Regions from separate parts of the Homo sapiens genome. Here region 2 is linked to region 1. The links are contacts of gene promoters, found by promoter capture Hi-C in blood cells and fetal thymus (Javierre and others, 2016). All regions are on one chromosome and are shown on one strand. The core of a region is centred on a gene start or on the middle of the fragment in contact, and the rest is flanking DNA. Distances in the headings are between cores, read along the strand shown.

What was found. Contacts are between HindIII fragments. The CHiCAGO score rates a contact against its expected background, and 5 or more counts as called.
Region 2: a fragment that was not itself captured here is called in contact with the fragment with the promoter of HKDC1 in region 1 in 3 of 17 cell types (naive CD4 T cells, activated CD4 T cells and M0 macrophages); the score reaches 5.9 in naive CD4 T cells.

The regions. Positions count from the first base shown.
Region 1 is chr10:69,218,923-69,221,998 of GRCh38, forward strand. HKDC1 (hexokinase domain containing 1) reads left to right here and starts at 1,410. Exons shown (of 18, transcript NM_025130.4): 1 at 1,410-1,576. The coding sequence starts at 1,514. All of the region lies in intron 4 of LOC101928994 (a long non-coding RNA gene), which reads right to left. The HindIII fragment of the contact is 4,258 bases long and covers 1-1,841 here.
Region 2 is chr10:69,497,023-69,500,098 of GRCh38, forward strand. TSPAN15 (tetraspanin 15) reads left to right here. Exons shown (of 8, transcript NM_012339.5): 5 at 1,258-1,374. Among named protein-coding and RNA genes, the nearest start is that of TSPAN15, 47 kb to the left of the region's middle. The HindIII fragment of the contact is 1,941 bases long and covers 403-2,343 here.

The DNA.
Region 1 (3,076 bases), core at 160-2,659:
TGGCAAAACCCTATCTCTACAAAAATACAAAAATTAGCTGGGCATGGTGCCACGTGCCTGTAGCCCCAGCTACCCTGGGGATTGAGATGGGAGGATCACCTGAGCCCAGAAGGCTGATGTTGCAGCGAGTCATGATTCCACGACTGCATTCCAGCCTGGGGGATGAATGAGACCCTGTCTAAAAAATAATAATAACAAGAGTAATAAAAACAAAATGGGATTGGTAAATGCTCCATCCATGTTAGCCGCTGTTGTTAACGCTGTTGTTATTGGTTTCATTAGCCAGCCAGTGACTGTGGGAAGAGTGCAAGGTTGATTGTACCCATGTATTGGGTGCTTTCTGGGTCCTTCTCATGTCAAGTATGATGAGTGAGAAGTGAGTGAATAAAACATCTCAGTGGCCTGAGACATTTCTCTTTTTTTTCTTTTTTTGAGATGGAGTTTTGCTCTTGTCACCCAGGCTGGAGTGCAATGGCGCGATCTCGGCTCACTGCAACCTCTGCCTCCCAGGTTCAAGTGATTCTCCTGCCTCAGCCTCCCAAGTAGCTGGGATTACAGGCACCTGCCACCACTCCTGGCTAAGTTTTTTGTATTTTTAGTAGAGATGGGGTTTCACCATGTTGGCCAGGCTGGTCTCGAACTCCTGACCTCATGATCTGCCTGCCTCGGCCTCCCCAAGTGCTGCGATTGTTACAGGCGTGAGTCACTGCACCCGGCTGGACTGAGACATTTCTTATCTGTGACTTCCTTCTCTCCAGCAGTGATTCCCAGTGAGCACTGGTGACTTCAGTTCACTCTTTCTCAGGAATATTTTTTCCTGGGTCACTACCTGTGAACTAAAGATTTTCTGGCTTAACACTGTGAATAGGTAAACATTTATTGATCATTTTCTGTTAACCATGGGCTATTAGTTAAGAGATCTGATCTGTCACAAATGGAAGAATCTGCCCCAACATTCTTGAAATCCCATTGACCAGGACAATGTTTAGTTTTAGTTAGTTCAGTGCTTCTGAGGAGCAGGGGGTCACAGAGTTATGCCACTGGCATAAAAAACTAAAGAGAAAAGCCTGGGACTGGAAATTTGCAGAGCAGCTCCACCGGTTGAAAGTTGGCTTTGTTTAGTGCCCAACTTCGCAGAAGATTTTCCTCGGCTGAGTGGGCTTGGCAGAGCCCCGGCTTGAGAGGGTTGCTTAGCAATGAGATTTGGTGGCACCCAATTCTCAAGTAGTCAAGCAACCCATCAATACCCTGCTTCCCCCTCCACTAAACCTCAGCTACCATCCAGAGCCTCCTATTAGACAATCAAGTGTGTGCCAGAGGGAGGGACCAAAGGGGTGGGGTGGGGGGGAGTTTAATCATTGAACCAAGCAGGCTGGAGGTATTTAGTCCGCAACACCTCGCTCCCCAGGAGGTCTGCCAGCCTGGACTGGAAGCGTGCAACACTCCAGAGTCGTAGGAGTGAACACTGCACAGGAATCTCTGCCCATCTCAGGAGAAACCAAACTTGGGGAAAATGTTTGCGGTCCACTTGATGGCATTTTACTTCAGCAAGCTGAAGGAGGACCAGATCAAGAAGGTAAGGAGGACCCACGAAGCTGAGAGATGCCCAGCTCCTTCTTCACGGACAAAACTGATTCCCTTAAAAAAAAAATCAGAAGGGAGTGAAGAGAGCTTATTAGAAAAGATACTGGGAGCATATGACCAGTAAAAGACTCACTGAGGGAAGAGGGAGTAATTCTCCCACACTCCTGGGCATTGCATTACTGTCCTGAACCTTACACTTCACTCGGAACTTCCTGGCAGGTATTGGATGCGGAAGCGGGTGAGGAGGGTGTTTGGAAAGCTTGAAGAGGATTGTGTTTGCTGTAAGGGATGTTTGCTCGGAAAGGCCACAAAGGCGAGGAGAATCATTTTCAAAGAAGTTTTAAGAACTGTTGGAGCAGAAGGCTGGGCGCAGTGGCTCACGCCTGTAATCCTAGCACTTTAGGAGGCCGAGGTGGGCGGATTACCTGAGGTCAGGAGTTCGAGACCAGCCTGGCCAACATGGTGAAACCCCGTCTCAACTAAAAATACAAAAATTAGCTGGGTGTGGTGGCGGGCACCTGTAATCCCATCTACTCGGGAGGCTGAGGCAGGAGAATCGCTTGAACCCAGGTGGTGGAGGTTGCAGTGAGCCGAGATCGCGCCATTGCACTCCAGCCTAGGGGACAAGAGTGAGACTTCATCTAAAAAAAAAGAACTGTTGGGGCAGATCTGTTTGTTCATGTATTTGAAAGCATATAAATGTGGGCAGCAAGAAGGTGTGAGTTGCAATAGACAGTAATTGAAATATCTATTATTGGCACCTGCTATTTGCCAATGGTACACTATTCATGGTGTGCATTATTTTGTCACTTTGCTCAGGGAACTTGTCTACAAAATTCATTCCAAAGTGGGCTGGTTAAAGGTTGCCAAGGGTCAACAGGAGGGAACCAGGGTTCTTTCCAGGCAGCTAAAATGAGCCCAGTCTGCTACTCTGGCCACACCGGCTGGCTGTCACGGCCCTGGGCAAAAAGCATCTCTCAAAGTGCAGATGACAGAAGTCCTCCTAGCAGGAGGACTTAGCCAAGGTCACCAAGTATTTAGGATGGAATGAGGATTAAATCCAAGTTGGCTGACTCTTCCTTCAATGCTTTCTGCTGTGCCATGACTCCCTCCTGCTTTACAAAATGAATAAGGAGGCCAGGCACCGTGGCTCACGGCTGTAATCTGCATACACTGGGAGGCTGAGATGAGCAGATCTCATCTCAAACTTGAGGTCAGGAGTTTGAGACCAGCCTGGGCAACATGGAGCAACCCCATCTCTACAAAACATGTAAAAATTAGCCGGTCATGGTGGTGTGTGCCTACAGTCCCAACTACTCGGGAGGCTGCGGTGGCAGGATGGCTTGAGCCCGGGAGACTGCGCTACTGCACTCCAGCCTGGGTGACAGAGTGAGACCCTGTCTGAAAAAAAAAGGAAAGAAAAGAAAAAAAAAGGCCAAGGATGGTGGCTCATACCTATAATCCCAGCACTTTGGGAGGCCAAGGTGGGTGG
Region 2 (3,076 bases), core at 123-2,622, 280 kb after region 1:
CAGCTGTGCAGAGCTGCCATCCTTATTCTTGCTTTACAGACAACCATCTGAGGCTCAGAGAGGCTGACCAACTTGCCTGAGGTTGCACAGCAGGGAGTGGTGGTCTGAGGATTTGACCTTGGGTCTGTTCCATTGCAAGACAAATGCCCTTTGAACTACATTGCAGAAAGACAGTTCTAGGTCCCAAAACCTGGTGGCTTAAGGGGCACTGTGGGGACTCTGAAAGGTGTCTGGCTACCAGGACGTGTACTGCAGCCCTGGTTGAGCCCTCCAGTCCCAGCTCCCTGCTTCAGCTGGCTGGCAAAGCTTTGCATGGTCCAGCCTGTGCCGCCCTTTCATCCTCATGCTCTGCACTCTCTCTGTTCCAGGCTTGTTGGCCTCCGCACCTGCTGCTGAAATACAAGCTTGTTTCTGCGTGGGGCCTTTGCATGGGTCGTCTGGCTTCTTTCTGTTTCCATGTTTCAGATGAAATATCCTCTCTACAAAGAGCCCTTTCATGACCTGCCAACCTAGAGCTGCCCCTCCCCACTTTCCCCCTATTTCTCCATTTCCAGGTTGCACAGCACCTTTCCATCCAGTGCTCACTCTCTGTCTCTCCACTGGAATGTGTTCCACCTGAGCAAGGGCTGCCTTGCTTTTGCTCACCCTGTCTCTCCAGTGCCCAGGACAATGCCAGGCACATACCAGCCATCAGGAGGGTTACCAACTACTTCCTACAGGAGCAGGGAGGGGAGGCAGGGAGGGGCTCGGCTAAGGGGAGAGCTCCAGGCAGGTTGTGAGGTGTGGGTGCTCTCCTTGCTAAGGGCAGGGCCAGCTGAGCTGGACGGGGTGGCTCCTAGGGTGGGTGCGAAGGTTGGTTGAGGTGCAGGGACTTTCACAGAATCATGCTTGGTCTCTGGGACTTTAAGGGCCATCTTTTCCAGCCTAGCACCTGCATTTGGGGACACGAAGATGAAGAAAGTGGAGGCCAGTTGTCAAGGAAGGACCTTTCCTCCCAGTGCCTAGTCACTACCCTGATATCCCACCAAGAGGCAGCCCAGCCTTGGCTTCCATACCTCTCTAGTGACAGGGGGTTCACTACCCTCTAGGCAGCCATGCCACACTTTGACAGCTCTGACTTGAAAGTGTACAGCCTCTCCCTGCCCCAGGGTGACCCACATAATAAACTGCCTCCGTCTCCTGACAGGGCCCCTTCCTGTCGTCTGAGCAGGGCCTGGGCGATGACGGCAGCTCCTCTTTCCTGCTTGCTTCCCTCAGTTCAAGTGCTGTGGCGGGGAGGACTACCGAGATTGGAGCAAGAATCAGTACCACGACTGCAGTGCCCCTGGACCCCTGGCCTGTGGGGTGCCCTACACCTGCTGCATCAGGAACACGGTAGACACTGCTCCTGTGGGGACTGGGGGGCTGTCGGGGACCCCAGGTGGTATAAATGTTCTCTTTTCTCTCTTCCCAACTTGAAGATGGGTGGTGTGGGTGGATGGCAGGGAAGTAGGAGTTGGTGGCAGAGCGGAGGCTTTCCTGATTCTCAAGGGCTCCTGAAAGTGGAGCTTCTGGGGGTCGGGGGTAGGGAGACCATGTCTTTCTTAGTGGTGTTGGTTAAAATCTATTGAGCACCTACCTTGTGCAGGCCTGCTCTGGGCACTTTGGTGGTATTTACTCATTTAGTATTCACGACAACCCTGTGAGGTATGTACTGTTATTTTACCCACTTTACAGATGAGGAAATTGAGGCACTCAAAGGCTGGGTGTCTTGCCCAAGGTTGGCAGGGCTGGGATGAAGTGCAGGCAGCTGTTGCCTGAGCTACACTCTGGAGAACTGTGCAGGCCAGGTGAGGGCAGGAGGGAGAGGTGCCCAGGCCAGGGGAGCTTAGCGGGGGTAGCTGGCTCTGCAGCATTAGTGGAGGCAGGCAGGACCTGCACCTTGGGCATCTCCATTGGTCTTTGGCCTTGAGGTCCTGGTGATCATCAGCAGCAGAGTGCTTGGAAGGGGGTCTGGTGACGTAAATGCCATCCTCTTCCTCTCCCCAGCACGATCCTCTCGGGTCTGTCACCTTGGTCATTTGGGATGATGTCTTGTGTTGTCAGCGCTTAAGTGAAAGGCTTCATCAGTCCTTGTGTTTGACAAATGTGTCCAGAAACTGTTTCAGGATTGGAACGAGGTGGAGAGCTTTGCAATTACTCATGGCCCAGATAGTCATGGAAAGTTTTTCTCCTGACATTGCCACCATTCTGTGCCCACTGCTGGATTCTGTAAACTGAGCAGCTGCGGGTGGGGGCCTCGCCCATGAGTCAGAGAGCCAGTGCCAAGTGCACTAGCTCTAAAAAAGGCCGGGCCAGGAGGGAAGCTTTGTTTGGAAGTGTTAGCTGCCATTTTAGGGTAGTTCTCTGGGAAGTGGGGTGCTGAGGAGTAGCAGAGTTTCCAGAGAGGCCTGCGTGGGGTGATCCTGAACCTCATCACCCAGGGCAGCAGCATCTGAATACCTAAGCTGAGATGTGGAAGCCAAACTTGTATTCATTCATTCATTCATTCATTCAACAAATATTGGCTGAGAACCTACTCTATGCCAGACACATTTCCAGGTTCTGGGGGTGTAGCAAACAAAGTCTCTGCCCGCAAGGAGGTGACATCCTAGTGGAGAAAACTGACAAACAAAATAAGTAAAAGATAGAGGATCATAAATGCTGAGTAGAAAAAGAAAGTAGGGCATGGAGGATTGCAGTTTGGGATACTGAGAAAGGCGGGATCTGGGTGAAGCTCTGAAGAAAGTGAGGAAGGTGTCTGGGGGAGGGGCATTCCTGGCAGCAAGAACAGCTGTGCAAAGGCCCCAGGTGGGAATCACCCCAGGGCGTTTGAGAAATGCACAGAGTGGCTGGAGCAGAGGGAGCACAGCGGAGGATGGTAGGAGGTGGAGTCAGGGAGGTCATGGGTACCCCGAAGGCCACAGGCAGGACTGTGGGGCACCCTTGAGTGATGGACCATACAGGGCTGCATGGAAGAGGGGCACTCTGACTTGGTTTTACAAGAATCAGTCTGGCTGTTGTGAGGGACATGCTAGATGCAGGGATAGAGTTAGGG